Regions from separate parts of the Homo sapiens genome. Here regions 1, 2, 3, 5, 6 and 7 are each linked to region 4. Evidence: promoter capture Hi-C in 16 types of primary human blood cells and fetal thymus (Javierre and others, 2016). All regions are on one chromosome and are shown on one strand. Each heading gives the region's core, a stretch centred on a gene start or on the middle of the fragment in contact. The rest is flanking DNA. Distances are from core to core; before and after follow the strand shown. Region 1 overlaps KAT8 (lysine acetyltransferase 8). Region 2 has its middle 35 kb from the start of ZNF267. Region 3 overlaps ZNF668 (zinc finger protein 668). Region 4 holds the start of TGFB1I1 (transforming growth factor beta 1 induced transcript 1). Region 5 has its middle 4.3 kb from the start of FUS. Region 6 holds the start of PRSS36 (serine protease 36). Region 7 overlaps ZNF267 (zinc finger protein 267).

Region 1 (2,700 bases), core at 22-2,521, 350 kb after region 4:
GGCGCAGCCGCCCTCAGTCTCCATGCCTGCCTCTGCCTCTCACCGGGCCCCTGCCCAGCTCGGCCCGGCCGGCCCAGCCTCACCAAGTGGAAGCGGTAGCTCTTCTCATATTTCATGTACTTGAGGCAGTACTCGCAGAGCCAGAGCTTGGGCTGTTTCCCATAGTCTTCGGGGAATGGTGAGAAATACCAGGCATCAATTTCGTAGTTCCCGATGTGGATCTTGTCCACATACTTCACCTTGGTGATCTGCAGGCAGGGTGGGAGTGAGGCACAGTGCACGGCTCAGCAGGGGCTCCTCGGCAAGGGGAGACGGGGGACCTGCAGGCAGCTTCCCAGCCCCACTTACCGCCTCATGCTCCTTCTCCAAGGCTGCTGTGGTGGGGTCCATCTCTGCATAAGTCTGGGCCAGGAAAGAAAAGTGGGCAGAGGTGAACAGAAGTGGTGACCAGGCTGTCCCTCCCGTCAGGACCCACAAGGCTTCCCTGCCGTCTACCAGACCTCATTCCTGGATGGCAATAATAACCACACCAATAGCTAACCTATCTGACTTGGTTCTGAAGCTGGCTGGTCCAGACTCCTCTCACACCCACCCGCCCCACCCCCGATATCCCAGACATCCCTGATGTCCAAGTTTGGACCTTTTGCCAGATGAACAGGGTTAGGATCAGGATGGGGCTTCAGCTGCACGATGGGGGGCAATCCAGCTCTGCCAAAGTTGTGAGACTCAAATGAAATAACAGATTTGCCTTCCAGGCCCAGCGTAAGAACTGTTACTACCTCCCCGATGTTCCTGGACCCCTTTCCTGAGGACCAGACCCTGCCTGCCCATGCGACTGCCCCAGAGGTCCCTCCCACAGGGACAGCGGACTCAAGATGTGCAGAAAGGACCTCATCACTCCTCCCTGCAAACCTGCGCCTCCTCCTGGGTTGCTCATTTTACTGGGAACATCACCCTTGGTCCCAGTGTCCAAGACCCATAACTAGGCTTGCCTCAGACTACTCTCTCTCCCTCGGCCTGGCCAAGTCCTAATACAGTGGATGTCGAGTCTACTTCTGACATCTCTGGAATTGGGCCCTCTCTGGAATTCTCCTCTCTGTCCTGCTCCAGGTAGTCATGGCCCCATCTCAGGTCTGGACAATTTACTAGGCCGCCTCAGACTCCCTGCCTCCAGCCCCAGCCTCCTCATTGCTATCAGCAGCCCCCTTTTAGCGGCCTTCATGCTTCTGCACAAACAGCTCCTTCTACCTGGAGAATGCCCTTCCTTCTCTCACTGCCAGCAGAAAACACTTCCTCAGCCTGGCACGGAGCATGAGTCAGGTGAGTCCATGATGCTTTGTGATCTATCCTTTGTCACTGTTGTTATTGTGCTCTTTCCCATCCTTCAAGGCTTGAGATTCTTACCACCCCCTCCAGGAGGCCTGACTGGATTCTTCCCATCCAGAAAACATTCCCTCCTTCCCAAGTTCAGCGAGAAGTGGTCAACAGGGCAACACTGTCCAAGTATGCCCACCTGGGTTCCTCTATTTTTCAAGTCCTTAGAAAGCAGAGACTAAGAGTCACACCACACTCACAACACATCCTGCTCCTAGGCCAGACCCTGTGGGAGGAACCCAGTACAGCCTGACAATGGAAGGGGGACCCAAGACGGTCCATGACCTACACCAGGGCAGACAAGGCCCTGCCCTGTAGCTGAGAAGGGAGGAAGGAGCCAGTGCTTTACCCAGAACCCCCTCCACAAAGCACTGTGCCTATATGTTTATATGGCCTCATTTAATCCTTTCAGTAACCCTTACATAGAGTGTTATTTCTTTTTTTTTTTTTTTTTTTTTTGAGACGGAGTCTCACTCTGTTGCTCAGGCTGGAGTACAGTGGCACCATCTCGGCTCACTGCAACCTCCGCCTCCCAGGTTCAAGCAATTCTCCTGCCTCAGCCTCCCAAGTAGCTGGGACTACAGGCACATGCCGCCACATCCAGGTAATTTTTGTATGTTTAGTAGCAATGGAGTTTCGCCATGTTGGCCAGGCTGTTCTCAAACTCCTGACCTCAGGTGATCAACCAGCCTCGCACTCCCAAAGTGCTGAGATTACAGGCGTGAGCCACTGCACCCAGCTGCGTTATTTCAATTTTACAGAGTAGTAAACAGGCAGGGCAAGGTGAGGTCCCTTACCCTCGGGGACTAGTGAGCTGCCATTTATTCCAAGTGGCAAGCACGGCACAGACATGTTTTTTTTTTTTTCTTCTGAGATAGACTCTCACTCTGTCGCCCAGGCTGGAGTGCAGTGGGGAGATCTCAGCTCACCACAACCTCTGCCTTCTGGGCTTAAGTGATTCTCCTACGTCAGCCTCCCAAGTGGCTGAGACTACATGTGCCTGCTACCATTCCCAGCTAATTTATTTTGTTTTTTGAGATGAAATTTTGCTCTTGTTGCCCAGGCTGGAGCAATGGTGCAATCTTGGCTCACTACAACCTCCACCTCCTGAGTTCAAGCGATCTTCCCACCTCAGTGTCCCAAGCAGCTGGGATTACAGGCGCCCACCAGCAAGCCCGGCTAATTTTTTGTATTTTTGGTAGAGATGGGGTTTCACCATGTTGGCCAGGCTGGTCTTGAACTTCTGACCTTCAGATGATCCACCCACCTTGGCCTCTCAAAGTGCTGGGATTACAGGCATGAGCCATAGCCTTTTTTTTTTTTTTT
Region 2 (2,753 bases), core at 23-2,522, 370 kb before region 4:
GTGTGTGTTGAATCATCCTTGCATCTCTGTGACAAATTCCATGTGATCATGGTGAATAATCTTTTTAATGTGCTGTTGAATTTTGTTTGCTAGTATTTTGCTGAGGATTTTTGCATTTATGTTCATCAGAGATATTGGCCTGTAATTTTCTTTTCTTGTAGTATCCTTGTCTGGCTTTGGCATCAGGGTAATGCTAGCCTCATAAAACGAATTTGAAAGTATTCCTTCTTCTTTAATTTATTTGAAGAGTTTGAGAAGGTTTAGTTTTTAAAATGTTGGTAGAATTCTTCAGTGAAGCCATCTGGAAACTGGATTAACTGGGATAGGACTGGAGCCTGAATACAAAGGAGCTGGTCTAGTGCTGGGGTGGCCCTAGGTCTGCAGGGTCCTGGGGCCTGGGTCTACCAGGGATAGCCGGAGCCTGTGTCTGCAGGGGTAGTCCTGGAGCCTCAGGTTGCAGTGACTGACCTGGAACTGGAGTTCACTTGGGTGAGCATGGATCCTGGGTTCACTGGAGTCTGAAGTTCGTGGGACTAGACTGAAGCCTAAGGCTAGCCTGGTGCTGGGGCAGGCATAGAGCCTGGGTTTGCAGGGGTGTGTCTGGAGCCTGGGATTGTGGATACTGGCCTGGAGCCTGGTCCATAGGGGATAGTCTGGAAGCTGGGTATGCAGTGCTGGCCTGGAGGCTAGGTCTTCGAGGGGTGGCCTGGGTCATGGGGCCATGGAGGCAGTCCTGGAGCCTGTGTCCATGGATGCCAGGTTGGTGCGTGATGACAGGGTGCCAACTTAGGGCTGGGGCAGGCTGAAGCCTGGGGCTGAAGGGGTGAACCTGGCTCTGGGCTTGGCTGGACCCTGGAGTAGTCCGGGAGGCTGGTCCATGGGTACTGGCCTGATGATGTAGGGCTGTGGAGCCAGCCTGGTGCTGGGGCAGATTGAAGCCTAGTGCTGGGAGTGGCTCAAAGTCTGGGTCAATTGGGGCTGGCCTGATACTGGGGAAGGCCCAGAGACAGTCTGTGAGGCTAGCCTGGAGCCTGAGAATGTGAGGAGAGGCAGAGAGCCTGGGTTTGTAGAGGTTGGCCTGTGCTAGGGCAGGCCTGAGGCCCATGGCCACTGGGGCTGGCCTGGTGGTGGGGCTGGCCTGGAGACCAAGCCTTCCAGGAAGGCCTGGAGCTTGAGGATGCAGAATCCAACCCAGTGCCTTGGTGGACCTGGCAGCTCAGTCTGCTGATGCCAGCCTGGACTTTGGGGTCATGGGGGCCTTCTTGGTGCTGGGTTTCACTGGGGTCGGGTAAAGGGCTGGTGCTGGGGTCCAAGGGAGGGTCCAGTGTTCACTTCCCTGTCCCACCTGGTGGAGGTGTCTCTTGCCAGACTGTGCTGCAGAATGTGGCATGTATGCTTAAGAAGAATATATATTCTTCTGCTGTTGGGTGAAAAGTTTTGTATATGTCTGTTAAGTTTATTTGGTGTATAGTGTTATTCAAGTTTCCCATTTCTTTATTAATTTTTTGTCTTCCACGAGTAGTATTCCATGGTGTGTGTATGTGTGACATTTTCTTTATCCAGTCATCTATTGATGGCCACTTAGGTTGATTCCATATCTTTGCTATTGTGAATAGTGCTGCAATAAACATATAAGGGCAGGTATCTTTTTGATATAACAATTTATTTTCTTTTACGTAGATACGAGGTAGTGGGATTGCTGGATTGAATTGTAGTTCTATTTTTAGTTCTTTGAGAAATCTCCATACTGTTTTCCACAGAGGTTGTACTAATTTACATTCCCACTAACGGTGTGTAAGGGTTCTTTTTTCTCTATATCCTCACCAACAGCTGTTATTTTTTGTCTTTTTTTTTTTGTTTTTTTTGAGATGGAGTCTCACTCTGTCACCCAGGCTGGAGTGCAGTGGCACAATCTCAGCTCACTGCAACCTCCACCTTCCAGGTTCAAGCAATTCTTCTGCCTCAGCCTCCTGAGTAGTTGGGACTACAGGTGCGTGCCACCATGCCTGGCTAATTTTTTTTATTTTTATTAGAGACGGGGTTTCACCGTGTTAGCCAGGATGGTCTCGATCTCCGGACCTCGTGATCTGCCTGCGTCAGCCCCCGAAAGTGCTGAGATTACAGGCGTTGAGTCACCATGCCCGGCTTGTCTTTTTAATGATAGCTATTCTGGCTAGTGTAAGATGATTTCTCATTGTGGTTTTAACTCGCATTTCTCTGATGATCAGTAATGTTAAGCATTTTTTCATATGTCTGCTGGCCATCTGAATATCTTCTTTTGAAAAATGTCTATTCATGTCCTTTTTCCACTTTTTTTTTTTCCCCGAGATAGAGTTTTGCTCTTGTTGCCCAGCCTGGAGTACATTGGCATAATCTTGGCTCACTGCAACCACCTCCCAGATTCAGGCGATTCTCCTGCCTCAGCCTCCTGAGTAGCTGGGATTATAGGCATGCGCCACTACGCCTGGCTAATTTTTGCATTTTTCATAGAGACGGGGTTTCTCCATGTTGTTCAGGCTGGTCTCAAACTCCTGACCTCAGGTGATCCACCCGCCCCAGGCTCCCAAAGTGCTAGGATTACAGGCATGAGCCACCATGCCCAGCCTTTTTCCACTTTTAAACAGGACTATTTATTATTTTTTTGTTGGATTGTTTGAGTTCCTTGTAAATTCTGGATATTAGTCCCCTGAAACATAAGTATTTCCTCCCATTATTCAAGTTGTCTCTTCACTCTGTTGATAATTTTGCAGTGC
Region 3 (2,700 bases), core at 138-2,637, 400 kb after region 4:
GCCGGCGGCCCCCTCCCCTGCTGAGGCCCGGCCACCACTCCCGCGGTCCTAGAGAACGCCATCTTGCAAGCCTTTGTCCCTCATTCGGCCTTCCGTCCATTCATTTGTTCATCTCCTCATCCTTCGTTCAGTCCTCCTTGCCACGTCCTCCGAAGCCACGTTTTCTGAGGCTTATAACCGGGGTCCTGCCCTCCAGGGGCTGCCTGGCTGGCGGGGGCGCCGCGTACAGACGGTTGCGAGGAGCGAGGAGCTCCGGGTTTCTGCAACTCTCGGCTCCTCGGCGCGCTTCGTAGGCCCCACCGCCCTTCAAACTCCCACAAACTTAAGGGACCCCATTTTACTGATGAGGAAACTGAGGTCCAGAGCGGCGTGGGGCCCTTACCTCTCTACTGCCATAAAGTATTCCTGAGGGCACTAGGGAAGGGGGTTCTTGAAGGATGTAAAGGGGCTTTCCCGTTGGAGAAGGCAGGCAAGGGCTCCCCGAGCCCAGGAAACTGCATCTAGAGGTGGAGGATTGAGAATTGTGGCTGGAGGTTCGGTCGCTGCCGGGAGGAGGACTCTGTCGCTGGAGCTGAGGCTGGAAAAGTAGGTTGGGATCAGGTTGTGAACTGGCCCGGTAGGAGGCCTAGGATATGATTAGCGCTCACTTCTGCAGGGTTCATCCGCTCACTACGTCACTCCTGGCCGTGAGGCCTGTGTGGTGACTGCTTGTTTAGAGATGGGAAGATTGAGGTGCCTCCTTTTTCTCCTCATCCCTGCCCCAGGGTCCTAGCCTAGGATTTTTGGAAATTGAATCTTTGCTTGCCTAGTGAGACAGCAGAACTTCATCCCCTTCCTAAGCCAGTAGTGAGGCAAAGCAAGGCTTCATCGCCACGACAGGGAGCCCACTGTGGGATATTGGGGCAATAGTTGAGCCTTGTGGAGTTGGAAAGGTGGAGGAATTTAGTTAATAAACAGTTATTGGTGGACATTCTCACAAACTCCTACTGTGGAGGAGGCAGAGGCTACAGACCTGGGTTCAAATTTCATCTGAGGTTGGTTCTTTCCATTTGTTTTGGGTCACCACACAGGGTTCTGGGTGTAGAGGAGGCAGATGATCGGTTTCCTAGCCCTTTGCCAGCCTGGACTCTGGTGCTGGTGATGAAGAATTAACAGCCAAACCATAAGATGTGTAATGCTAGCAAAGCAATAGTCAGGGCTCAGAGAGCAGGTGTTTGGGATTTGAACACTGGCTGGGACCGTGACTAGTAAGCTTGTTTCTTTGTGGTGTCACTTCTCATAAGAACGCTAATCCTACTGGACCAGGGCCATACCCTTATGACGTCATTCAGCCTTAATTACTTCCATAAAGGCCTTGTCTCCAAATACAGTCACAATGAGAGTTAGAATTTCAATATATGAATGGACAGGGAACACAAACATTCACTCATAATGAACTGCTAGGCAGCTGTGCAGTTGGCTTGAGTAGTTGAGTATTATGCACAAAATGCTTAGAATGATACCTTGCCCATGGTAAGCTTGCAAGGAGTATTGTCCAGATGACACCATAAAGGAAATTAGAGAGGAGGGGTGCTGGTCACTGTGGCTCATGCCTGTAATCACAGCACTTTAGGAAGCCATAGTGGAGGAGCATCTGAAGCCAGGAGTTCTTGAGACCACTGTCGGCAGCGTAGTGAGACCTCCATCTCTATATACAAAGAATTTTTAATAAATTAGCGAGGTGTGGTGGTGGGTGCCTATAGTCCTAGCTACTCAGGAGGATTGCTTGAGTGCAGGAGTTTGAGGCTGAAGTGAGCTATGATTGAGCCACTGCACTCCAGGGTGACAGAGTGAGACCCAATCTCTAAATAAAAATAAAGGCCAGGCACGGTGGCTCACGCCTGTAATCCCAGCACTTTGGGAGGCTGAGGCGGTCGGATCACTTGAGGTCAGGAGTTCGAGACCAGCGTGGCCAATGTGGTGAAACCCTGTCTCTACTAAAAATACAAAAGTTTGCCAGGTGTGATGGCTTTCGCCTGTAGTCCCAGCTACTCGGGAGGCTGAGGCTGGAGAATCACTTGAATCCGGGAGGTGGAGGCTGCAGTGAGCTGAGATGCAGCCACTGCACTCCAGCCTGGGCAACAAAGACTTTCTCTCAAAGAAAATAAATAAATAAAAATGAAATAAATAGGCCGGGCATGGTGGCTCAAGCCTGTAATCCCAGCACTTTGGGAGGCCAAGGTGGGTGGATCACCTGAGGTCAGGAGTTCCAGACCAGCCTAGCCAACATGGCCATCTCTACTAAAAATACAAAAAATTAGCTGGCTGTGGTGGCAGGCACCTGTAATCCCAAATACTTGGGAGGCTGAGGCAGAAGAATTGCTTGAACCCAGGAGGCAGAGGTCGCAGTGAACTGACATCACACCATTGCACTCCAGCCTGGGCAACAGAGGGAGACTCTGTCTCAAATAATAATAACAATAAATAATAAAATAAATAAAAATAAGCCAGGCACGGTGGCTCATGCCTGTAATCCCAGCACTCTGGGAAGCCGAGGCAGTGGATCATCTGAGGTCAGGAGTTCGAGACCAGCCTGGCCAACATGGTGAAACTCCATCTCTACTAAAAATACAAAAAATTAACCAGGCGTGGTGGTGGATGCCTGTAATTCCAGCTACTCGGGAGGCTGAGGCAGGAAAATCTCGTGAACCGGGGAGGCGG
Region 4 (2,700 bases), core at 136-2,635:
ATGGGGGAGGGGTGAGAGGCTCCGCAGGGCGCTCTTTGGGAGCCCCTGACCTTGGCATGTGCGAGGTGGTAGTCTCCAGGTCAGAGAGCAGGGCATCTGCAGGAAGAGGCCATCAGGGAGAGAGACAAGGGTCACGGTTAGATCAGAAGATAAGGTTCCCAGTGGGCAGTACTGGAGAAGGACAGAAGCCAGTATTAAGAGAAGAGGTCACAGGGCCAGAGCCAGGCAGAGCACTGCTCGAAGGGTAGCAAGGAATATTTATGACCAGAATATCCCAGTTGCTCACGCTTGGAGCCAAGCACAAACCCAGCCTCCTGATTATTTTATTCTCCCCATCTTCTCTGATGCAGTCAAAATGGGCTCTTCACCCAAGCCAAATTTGGCTCCCCTCCAAATTGCTCCATTGGCCCAGTGCCTGGCCCTCAGCTTTCTGATTGGACGCTCTCTCTTCCATGCTGGTTAACTCCTCCCTCTACCTACACAGGCCCCGCCCAGCCTGGCCACTCCCAGGCCCCTGAGTCCCGCCCTGGGCTCCTCACTGGCGCTTCGCTGGGACCTGCCTTCTGATTGGCTGTTTATCTGCGGTACAGCGTCAGTTACCCCTACCGAGCAGCGCCCTCTACCGCCAGGGGCCGGAAGCCCCTCTCTCCCGTGGAGCGCACAGCCTTCCAGCCCCAGGCTTCGCAGGGAGGACGAGATACCTGGGTCCCCCTTCCGGACAAGACACCTCTCTCCATCCCTGCATCCCCAGATCCGGGTCTTTTGAGCCCTTTCACTTCCAGAACCCAGAAGTCCTGCCCTCAGTCTTCGTCTCTGAGCACCCGCGTGAAACCCTGAAGCCTTCGCGGGCGCCTAGGCACTCCTGAGTTACTATTCTCTTCCTTGCCTCAAGGACCTGACCCTCACTGTGCTCAGGAGCCCTTAACTCCTCCTCTCCCAAAACTCTGGTGCAGGCAGGCCCGCTTTTTTTCTCCAAAACTTGATGCCAGACTTTCCCGTGCCCTCTACTTTCCCGGTCCCCGGGCCGAGGCCCCTTTAACCCCTCCCTCCCCAGAGCCCCGCGCCCGGGCGCCCGCGGGCGCCGCACCTCCCGTTCCATCTGCCGCAGCCTGGGATGGAGGAGCACAGCGAGGGAAGAAGGGAGGGAGCGGCCGGCCCAGGAAAGGCAGGAAGGGAGAGGCAGGAAGGGGGACGTGGAGTTGGAAAGGAGGCGCGGGCAGAGGCGAAAAGCAGAAGTAAGAAGACAGGGATGGGGAGATGCGGGAGAGCGACGGCGGGGAGGCAGCTCTGGGCAGCGGTGAGGGGCCACGGACCCGGGGATCCGGCCCCACTCACCCAGGTCCTCCATGGCGGGGCGCGGGCCGGTGGCGCGGGGCGAACAGGGCGGGGGCCGTGTCCGGTGGGGGCGGGGGGCGGGGGACGTCCGGGAGCTGGAAGCCCGGCCGTGACCATGTAAGGAAGCCGGGACCCGCTGAGATGGGGATGGGGGGGCGATGAACGGGGGAACCCGAGGTGGGGGCGTGGAAAGGAGGGAGCGCCCCGGCCCACCCGAGCCCAGCCCGCCGGCCTGCCGCGGAGGCGGCCACACCCCAGCCTTGGCCTCAGCTGCAGGGAGCCCCAGGAGGCCAGAGCCAGAGAGAAGTGGCTTCTCCAGACCAAGCCCCAGAGCCGCTCCCTAGGGAGACTTACAGACACGGACTGAGGCCCCCAAACAGACACCGCTCAAAGCTAGCGCCTGAGTCCTAGACAAGAGCCTCCCTCCCACCCATGCCATTCCTGGGAGACTTGTCCCAGACGGAATTTTTGGATTGGTAGCAGGAGTGATATTCTAAGGCTCAATTAGACCTCAGGTTCGGAGACCCTCCCATCGGAGACCCTGACAGATAAATAGAGGCCCCAAGAGGCATACATACCAGACACAAAGAAATCTGAGGGACGGGGACAGACACAGTGAACCCACCCACAGACTCTACACTAGGACCTTCCCTCCAAGACTTGGTCATGGACACACGTAAACTCGAACCCGGGCGCAAGCCCCTTGCAAATTCGGGGAAAACACTCCCAGGCAACCAACCCCCAGCCAGCCTGCAAGACAAAGCCCTTCCTCAGCACTGAGGTGGCCCAGGCCTGCTCTGAAACAGCCCTTTCCCAAGTTACTGATGAACTCAGAGCAGAAAGCAAGACACAGTCTCCAGCCACAAAGTGGCAAGGCCTTCCCTGGACTGAGACCCTGAGAAACGAGGTGGAAACGAGAGGCCATAGAGGTAGTTATGGACAGACAACTGTGCTGCAGCCACTCTTCTGGACAGATCTGAGCACTGGAATGTGAGTATCAACCCAGCAGCAAATCGGAACAACCTGGGGAGCTTTTTAAAAATGCGAGACAGGCATGGTGGCTCACACCTATAATCCTAGCACTTTGGGAGGTCAAGGCGGGCAGGTCACTTGAGGTCAGGAGTTCGAGACCAGCCTGGCCAACATGACAAAACCCCATCTCTACTAAAAACACAAAATTAGCTGTGCGTGGTGGTGGGAGCCTGTAATTCCAGCTACTTGGGAGGCTGAGACAGGAGAATTGCTTGAAACCTGGAGGCAGAGGCTGCAGTGAGCTGAGATTGTGCCACTGAACTCCTGAGCAACAGAGGAGACCCTGTGTCAAGAATAAAAAAGAAAAAGAAGAAAAAATGGGCAAACGACCTG
Region 5 (2,700 bases), core at 160-2,659, 300 kb after region 4:
GACAACCACAGAACACTAAAGAGAGATGGTAACCCTGAAGCCAAGGCTTACTGGATAAGTAGAAGTTTGCCAAGCAGCAAGGGAGGAAAGGCTATAATAGGCAGAACCGCGAAGACAAAGGCACAAGTGGGGAAGACACTGAGGCAGAGTTCAGGCTCCAGCTGTGACTCTGGGCTGGGCATGGTGGCAGATGAGACTCGGCCTCAAAAAAAAAAAAATATGTGACTCTGAAAGACTAAATCAAATGGCCATTTCTTTCTTTCTTTTTTTTTTTTTTTTGAGATGGAGTCTCACTCTGTCACCCAGGCTGGAGTGCAGTGACGTGATCTCAGCTCACTGCAACCTCTGCCTCCCGGGTTCAAGCAATTCTTGTGCTGCAGCCTCCCGAGTAGCTGAGATTACAGGCATGCATCACCATGTCCAGCTAATTTTCCTATTTTTAGTAGAGACGGGGTTTCACCATATTGCCCAGGCTGTTCTCGAACTCCTGATCTCAAGTGATCCACCTGCCTCGAATGTTTTAATTTTTTTAACTAGTTGCCAACACTAAAAATAGTGGGCCATTCCAGGCCCACTTCCATAGGGCAAGGGTCAGCTGGAGTGAGACACTGTCACCTTTAGCTGCCATATGTGCTTTAAGTTCACCATAAATGTCTTATTTACTTCCTATCTCTGACAGGAAAGTCAATGTTAAATTTTTCTTTTTTGAGACAGGGTCTTGCTATGTTGCCCAGGCTGGTCTTGAACTCCTAGGCTCAAGGGAATCCTCCCAAAGTGCTGTGATTAAAGGTGTGACCACCACACCCAGTTTCAATTAACATGTATATCAGATATTGGGCCAGATGCGTTCGCTCACACCTGTAATCCCAGCACTTTGGGAGGCTGAGGTGGGCAGATCATGAGGTCAGGAGTTCGAGACCAGCCTGACCGACCTGGTGAAACCCCATCTCTACTAGAGATACAGAAATTGGCCGGGCATGGTGGCGCGCATCTGTAGTCCCAGCTACTCGGGAGGTTGAGGCAGGAGAATTGCTTGAGCCAGGGAGGCAGAGGTTGCGGTGAGCAGAGATTGTGCCATTGCACTCCAGCCTGGGCGACAGAGCAAGACTCCATCTCAATAAAAAAATAAACACGTATATCAGATATTGATTTTTTTTTGAGACAGAGTCTCACTCTGTCACCCAGGCTGGAGAGCAGTGCTGCAATCTCAGCTGACTGCAACCTCTACTTCCCAGGTTCCAGCAATTCTCCTGCCTCAGCCTCCTGAGTACCTGGGATTACAGATGTGCACCACCACACCCAACTAATTTTTTTAGTAGAGATGAGGTTTCCCTATGTTGGCCAGGCTGGTCTCGAACTCCTGACCTCAAATGATCTGCCTGCCTTGCTTTCCCAAGTGCTGGGATTAGAGGCATGAGCCACTGCACCCAGCTCAGATATCCAGATATTTATTTAGTTAGTTAGTTTTAATTTATTTATTTAATTTTTTTGTTTGTTTTTTTGAGACAGAGTCTCCCTCTGTCACCCAGGCTGGAGTGCAGTGGCACAATCTCAGCTCACTGCAACCTCCGCCTCCGGAGTTTGCAGTTCTCTGCCTCAGCCTCCCGAGTATCTGGGATTACAAGCTCCCACCATTACGCCTGGCTAATTTTTTGTATTTTTAGTAGAAACAGGGTTTCACCATCTTGGCCAGGCTGGTCTTGAATTCCTGACCTCCTGATCCACGCGCCTCGGCCTCCCAAAGTGCTGGGATTACAGGTCTGTGCCATCGTGCCAGGAAGTTACATATATATATATATTTATTTATATTTATATATATTTGTTTGAGATGGAGTCTCGCACTGTTGCCTGGGCTGGAGTGCAATGGCGCGATCTCGGCTCACTGCAATATCTGCCTCCCAGGTTCAAGCGATTCTCCTGCCTCAGCCTCCAAGTAGCTGGGATTACAGGCACCCGCCACCACGCCTGGCTAATTTTTTGTATTTTTTTTTAGTAGAGACGGGGTTTCACTATGTTGGCCAGGCTGGTCTCAAACACCTGACCTCGTGATCCACCCCTCCTCGGCCTCCCAAAGTGCTGTTACAAGCATGAGCCACTGCGCCCAGCCCCAGAATTTATTTTTTAAAGACAAGGTCTCATTTTGTTGGCCAGTTTTGTCTTGAACCCCTGGCCTCAAGCAATCTTCCTGCCTCGGCCTCCCAAAGTGCTAGAGTTACAGTTACAGGCATGAGCCACTGCGCCTGGCCTAGATCAAATATTTAATGCAATTTTTCTTTTTCTTTTCTTTTTTTTTTGAGCAGGGAGAGGTTGGTTTTCACATTTCTAGTGGGAGCCATGGGAGGGTCCTCCTTTGGCAGTGGAGGTGCTCACAATTTCTTCAGCCACTCCAAACTGGGGCCTTGGGGGTCCTGGGGGTGGCTGGGCACATCGGGCATGTTCCCATCATTGCAGACAGGCACTGGGTAGTTGTAGGGCCTTGCCTCGTTGATCATGATGGAGTACTTGGTGTGGGGACTAAGTGGGGGTAGAATTACAGTGAGGCTCCGGATGACAGAGGACAAGACCAGCACTGGCTCCTTGGCCCAGGAAATCTTGAGGAAGGTGCTGAGTCTCGTGGCCTTCTTGGTCTCGGTGGTGATGACAGCGGCCTTTTTTTTTTTTTTTGAGATTGAGTCTTGCTCTGTCACCCAGGCTGGAGTG
Region 6 (2,700 bases), core at 127-2,626, 320 kb after region 4:
CGCTATCTTGGCTCACTGCAACCTCCACGTCCTGGGTTCAAGCATTTTTATCTGCCTCAGCCTCCCTAATAGGTGGGATTACAGGTGAGTTCCACCACACTCGGCTAATTTTTGTATTTTTAGTATAGATGGGGCTTCTCCAAGTTAGCCAGGCTGGTCTTGAACTCCTGACCTCAGGTGATCTGCCCGCCTCGGCCTACCAAAGTGCTGGGATTACAGCCGTGAGCCACCCAGCCTCTTTGGTTTCCTTTGACCCTGCCTACACTTCTATAAATAGTTTCTTCCTTAAACTCTCTTCAACTCCTCTTTGAAGAGCCATATGTTTCTTTCTTCTTCTTATTCTTCTTTTTTTTTTTCTTTTTGTTGTTGTTGTTGAGACAGGGTCTCGCTTTGTCACCCAGGCTGGAGTGCAGTGGCACAATCATAGCTCACTGCAACCTCGACCTCCCAGGCTCAAGCAATCCTCCCACCTCATCTCCCGAGTAGCTGGGATACAGACGTGCACCACCACGCCCTGCAGTTCATAATTTTTGTATTTTTTAATTTTTTGTAGAGATGGGGTCTTGCTATGTTGACCAGGCTGGTCTTGAACTCCTAGCCTCAAGCAATCCTCCCACCTCAGTCTCCCAGAGTGTTAGGATCACAGGAGTGAGCCACCGTGCTCGGCCAAGTCATATGTCCCTTAAACTGGCTCTTACTGATACACACCAAGAGGTTGGGTTACTTTCCCAAAGTCACACAGAGTAAGTGACAGGGCAGCTAAGAGCATTGTCACTGGAACACAGAGCAGGGTGGAGGCTTTTTCAGCCTCGCCAGCCTGCCCAGCCCCCTCCCAGGGTCCCTATGCCCTGCCCAACCTGCTGGAATCTGTGATCCTTTTGTTGGGATGGGATTGAATTCCCTAGGGCTCCTGTCCCAGACCTGGCCAGCAGCTCCAGTAACCAGAGCTGTGTGAGAAGAAAAGGCCAAGCCACTGGGGCAGCCGCACCCCAAACAGAGGTGAGGTCTCCGATGAGTCATGCCCGTGAGGGGCCACTTCCCCTGTCCTAAGGGCCACTGCTCACCAAGGACACAGAACACTGTCCTCCTCTTTGACCTTTGCCTGCAGTGTTTTTCATCCCTCCCTCTCCCACCCAACAGGTGTCCAGGAGCTAGGACACCTGTCCTCCACCCCCACCCTGGGCCTCCAGAGACATGAGATGTGCGCAGGGCTCTGGGTGGGGCCTTCAGGCTCCCCAGCTTCCCCCTTCCAGCCCCAGATCCTCTCAGATTCCCAGAGATGGGCTCCAGCCAGGGAGGGTGGGGCTGCCCCTGGGACCATCAGGAGTCACGGGCTGCCTGGGCAGTGACAGAGCCCTGCAGGGAGCAGACCTTCACTTGGCTCTGCCTCCGCTGACTCTAGCGCCATGGCCCGGCACCTGCTCCTCCCCCTTGTGATGCTTGGTAACCTCAGGGGACAAGAGTGGCTGCAAAGGGCCTGGGTCCTGGCATCTGGGGGGCTGGAGAGCAGGATTCCTGGTTTCTGTGTGGGGAGCAGGAAGTCAGAGAGAAGGAAGTGAGGCAGCAGAAGGCGAGGATGTATCAGAGGAGGGAGAGGGAGGCCTGGGTGCCCTGGGGAGACGGAGGCTAGGAGGCTGGGGGAGGGAGTCAGGGAGGGCACATACTGAGTGCGAGTCGCCAGCCTCTTCCTGCCTACCTCTGTCTTTCCAGTCATCAGTCCCATCCCAGGAGCCTTCCAGGACTCAGGTAAGGTAGCCGGACTGGGGGAAAGTCACGTGCAGAGGCAGAAAAGACCAGAGGACTGGCATGGGTGCTGGCAGGGGTTGCTGAACGGACAGGGAAGTGGGAAGATAGGGTCGGGGGTTGGAGAGCAGGAAGTGGGGCTGGGCGGTGCAGGCCTGGAAGTCACAAGTGTCCTCCTCTCTTTCCCCTCTGGCTCCCAGCTCTCAGTCCTACCCAGGAAGAACCTGAAGATCTGGGTAAGGAAGAGGCCTTGGCACCCTCAGACCTTAAAGGAGGCTAAGGCTGGTCAGGCCATGAGGGAGGTGGAAAAGACCAGAAATGTAGACAAGCCTGGGTCCTCTATGTTCTTTGTTCAGAGGGGCAAACTGAAGTGGGTGGAGGACGGGCCTTCGTCCTGAGTTACCTGGGCTTCTGGAGTGGGGAACCCGAGGGGAGCTTTGGCTTCCACGGCTCCCCGTTGCAGACTGCGGGCGCCCTGAGCCCTCGGCCCGCATCGTGGGGGGCTCAAACGCGCAGCCGGGCACCTGGCCTTGGCAAGTGAGCCTGCACCATGGAGGTGGCCACATCTGCGGGGGCTCCCTCATCGCCCCCTCCTGGGTCCTCTCCGCTGCTCACTGTTTCATGACGTGAGTATTCGCCCTGGTCCTGGCCCCTCTCCGCCAAAAGCTGGCCCCCGCCCCCGCAGTTGGTCCCCTCCTCCCGCCCCACTTCCGTCCTCAAGGATAATTTGGAGCCAAGCTGTCCCCAAAGCGAGGTGCTATTCGAGGCATCATGGTTCCGAGTGGGGCAAGGCTGCCGGACTGGTCCCACCACTCCACTCAATATCCGGGTCTGAATCCCATCTTTCCAATGACCCCCCCACCACCAGCTCCAAATCGGATTTGCTCTTCCCCTTTGAGGAGTATCAGCACCAAATCTGGATCGGATAGCACCTGCCCCTCTGGCTCTGAGCCCCTG
Region 7 (2,720 bases), core at 24-2,523, 410 kb before region 4:
AAAAAATTGGATTTTAAAGTGTAAGCAACAATAGTTTATGTCAACCAATTTCTAGAATCACGACTAGAGTGAAACTTGTACATCACCTCAAATAAAAAGGCGAATGTCAAAATCAAACATTATGAAATTTTTTCTACTTCAACAAAACCCCTATTTTTTTCCTGAAAACAAGAATCTAAAACTAACTCATACAAAGCACAAGATCCCAAGGGACATTCTGAAAAGAAAATAAAACTCTTAGTTATTAGATATTCCGAAGGCAAGTTATCCTCACCCAGAGAGACCAGGTTTCTGTAGTTTTCTAACATCACATCCTGATACAAATTCTTCTGAGCTGGTTCCAGGTGTTCCCACTCCTCCAAAGAGAATTCTACGGCCACATCCCTGAATGTCAACAGTCCCTGAAATAAAAATAAAGAATACACTGACCATGTGGCCATGGCAGAGTTCTTCATTTGTCCCAAGATGAAATGACAGTTATTGGTTCTGACATATATGAGTGACCTGAATTATTCAGTAAGATCATTTTTAACACAGTAATATTTTCTAATGTAGTCTCAAACTCTGTGGAAAGAAAATAACATAAAATCCACAAAACTAGTGTAGATATTTATATCAAATGTAAAATATAAAACTAAGGCATCAACACAGGAATATACATTTTTGGGTGCTATATTTACATCATCCAGAATCAGCTGTGTATAATTCTCAGGTGCAAAAGTCATGGTGACTTAGAGGCATACTTCTCAAATTGTATAGTATACAACAATAAACTGGAGATCTTCTTCAAAGGCAGAGTCTGATTCAGGAGATCTAGATTTTGAGTTTCTGCATTTCCATATTTTTTAATTTTTAATTTTGACACAGGGTCTCGCTCTGCCACCCAGGCTGGAGTGCAGTGGTTGAATCTTGGCTCACTGCAGCCTCAACCTCCTGGGCTCAGGCGATCCTCCTGTTTCAGCCTCCTGAGTAGCTAAGGCTACAGGCATGAGCCACCATGGCTGGCTGAGTATCTGCATGTCTAACAAGTTCACCAGTAGTGTTAATGCTTCAGGCCCCAAAGCCACTTTTGAATAGCAGAGAGGTCGAACACTGAGGAAAGAATTCAGGCATGATGTGAAACTGAGAGTTTTATGAAATTTACAAGTTATAACAGCTAGAATGGTAGTAATCCTTTTTGAACATGCACAATATATCAGATATCATCCTAAAAGTTGTTTACATATATAAAACCCAATAAATAATCTGAGAAAAATTATATTCTTCCTCTTATATAAAAATTATTTTCCAAATATTTGCTACATAGTAGTTTGTATTTTGCCTCAGTTTATCTGATTTAGAATTTATCTCAAAGGGACATACCGGCCAATATACAGAGACAACCTTAACAGAATGTTCAGAGAAGATTTCGTAACTGAGTAACGAAAACAAGAAAGCAGCCACACAATAGTGATCGAATAATGCTTTCATTTTATGTGCATATGTGCACATAATGGTAACTATATACACACTAAAAGTAAGATAATATTTCTGTGTAAATAAAATTTAAAAATATTTTAAATTGTATAAAAACTATAAAACTCTTTGTGGGTGATGCCTTTTTTGTGATGCCTTTATAAAGACCAATACATACAATGAAATAAAGTAAAGGCTCTTGTTTCTGAGTCTGGTATTTTTTTTCAAGTTTTTGTTATGTTTATTCTATGTGCTATTATATATTTTAGAATTTTAAGACAATAGACATATTTGTTATATGTTAATTCTTGTTCTTTCTCTGAAAATATAGAGAATAAATAAGCATATGCTTGTGACATGAGATGAAATAAAATGGAAACCTACAGAACTGAGACCTGCTTCAGAACTTCCAGTCTTAAAAGCTGTTATCTCCTGTCAACAAATGTGAGAGCCTTTACTCTGCAAAGAAAGCTACAAGCAAAGGGAAACCAAAAAGAAATGGGAGTCTCTGGATTAAATGTGATGGTTTATAGACATCACTCAGTAAATCCTCCCTCCTAGATACTCATTACAAAGAGAAAAATGATTAACTTTATAGCGAAGGAATCTGACAGAGAGCACCTGCACCAAGTGAATGAAGTTAGCATCGTCTGTAATAAGACAAATTGGTACCAGTGCTAATGCACAGATGGGCCCATAATCATTGCTGTGATATGGGCGGAGGGGAACAGTAAATCATAATCTTAATATAATCATAAAAAAACAATCTGTGGGGGAAGATACAGGTGACCATAGATCTTCAAACTGGTTATGTGACCCTACTTAGAAGCCTGGGCTGAGAATCACTTAGCTAAGCATTGCCTCTCAAGGTTCAATACGCATACATATCATTTGGTATTCTGGGCCCCCTCTAAGTAATGTGATTCTGCAGGTTTGGAAAGTTTCCATGAACTGGCTTCTTTAACAAGTCCCCTGTCAATGCTGATGTTGCTCCTCCTAGACCCATTATCAATAGCACTCAGCTAGAGGAAGCAGACACAGCACAGAGTCCCTTACGCCCAATACTCTAATCACAACAAAAATACTTTTCGTTCACAGTGAGGACCACCAACCACTGTCCTGAAAGATCACACCCTTTGCCAGCCATTTAAAGTCTACAGATACAGAGACTGGAGAAGACAGTTATGTCTAAGTCAGCATTTGGAAAACAGCACGGATACATGCATTAAAGCAGTGTTTATTGAGCTTGTACTATGTGCTCACAG

Evidence for each region. Contacts are between HindIII fragments. The CHiCAGO score rates a contact against its expected background, and 5 or more counts as called.
Region 1: a contact is called between a fragment that was not itself captured here and the fragment with the promoter of TGFB1I1 in region 4, in 2 of 17 cell types (naive CD8 T cells and non-activated CD4 T cells). The highest score is 6.3, in naive CD8 T cells.
Region 2: a fragment that was not itself captured here is called in contact with the fragment with the promoter of TGFB1I1 in region 4 in 4 of 17 cell types (M1 macrophages, activated CD4 T cells, M2 macrophages and 1 more); the score reaches 7.1 in M1 macrophages.
Region 3: a contact is called between a fragment that was not itself captured here and the fragment with the promoter of TGFB1I1 in region 4, in 7 of 17 cell types (naive CD8 T cells, total CD4 T cells, fetal thymus and 4 more). The highest score is 9.8, in naive CD8 T cells.
Region 5: a fragment that was not itself captured here is called in contact with the fragment with the promoter of TGFB1I1 in region 4 in 1 of 17 cell types (non-activated CD4 T cells); the score reaches 5.9 in non-activated CD4 T cells.
Region 6: the fragment with the promoter of PRSS36 here is called in contact with the fragment with the promoter of TGFB1I1 in region 4 in 4 of 17 cell types (monocytes, naive CD8 T cells, endothelial precursors and 1 more); the score reaches 8.1 in monocytes.
Region 7: a fragment that was not itself captured here is called in contact with the fragment with the promoter of TGFB1I1 in region 4 in 12 of 17 cell types (neutrophils, naive CD8 T cells, M0 macrophages and 9 more); the score reaches 15.9 in neutrophils.

Annotation. Positions count from the first base shown.
Region 1 is chr16:31,124,737-31,127,436 of GRCh38, reverse strand. It overlaps KAT8 (lysine acetyltransferase 8), which reads right to left. Exons shown (of 11, transcript NM_032188.3): 4 at 349-402; 5 at 84-248. Among named protein-coding and RNA genes, the nearest start is that of KAT8, 8.4 kb to the right of the region's middle. The HindIII fragment of the contact is 7,764 bases long and covers 1-2,700 here.
Region 2 is chr16:31,837,901-31,840,653 of GRCh38, reverse strand. No RefSeq gene overlaps it. Among named protein-coding and RNA genes, the nearest start is that of ZNF267, 35 kb to the left of the region's middle. The HindIII fragment of the contact is 2,976 bases long and covers 1-2,753 here.
Region 3 is chr16:31,070,625-31,073,324 of GRCh38, reverse strand. All of the region lies in intron 1 of ZNF668 (zinc finger protein 668), which reads left to right. It also overlaps a transcript of ZNF646 not described here. Among named protein-coding and RNA genes, the nearest start is that of ZNF668, 2.3 kb to the left of the region's middle. RefSeq lists enhancers at 1-117, 1-209. The HindIII fragment of the contact is 265 bases long and covers 1,255-1,519 here.
Region 4 is chr16:31,470,837-31,473,536 of GRCh38, reverse strand. It overlaps TGFB1I1 (transforming growth factor beta 1 induced transcript 1), which reads right to left and starts at 1,385. Exons shown (of 11, transcript NM_001042454.3): 1 at 1,336-1,385; 2 at 1-96. The coding sequence starts at 1,348. RefSeq lists an enhancer at 506-1,046. The HindIII fragment of the contact is 20,246 bases long and covers 1-2,700 here.
Region 5 is chr16:31,174,491-31,177,190 of GRCh38, reverse strand. It overlaps the pseudogene NDUFA3P6. Among named protein-coding and RNA genes, the nearest start is that of FUS, 4.3 kb to the left of the region's middle. The HindIII fragment of the contact is 8,665 bases long and covers 1-2,700 here.
Region 6 is chr16:31,148,742-31,151,441 of GRCh38, reverse strand. It overlaps PRSS36 (serine protease 36), which reads left to right and starts at 1,376. Exons shown (of 15, transcript NM_173502.5): 1 at 1,376-1,443; 2 at 1,711-1,746; 3 at 1,944-1,979; 4 at 2,207-2,369. The coding sequence starts at 1,407. RefSeq lists enhancers at 1,132-1,668, 1,669-2,204, 2,205-2,700. The HindIII fragment of the contact is 9,446 bases long and covers 1-2,700 here.
Region 7 is chr16:31,882,179-31,884,898 of GRCh38, reverse strand. ZNF267 (zinc finger protein 267) reads right to left here. Exons shown (of 4, transcript NM_003414.6): 2 at 275-401. Among named protein-coding and RNA genes, the nearest start is that of ZNF267, 9.7 kb to the right of the region's middle. The HindIII fragment of the contact is 4,868 bases long and covers 1-2,720 here.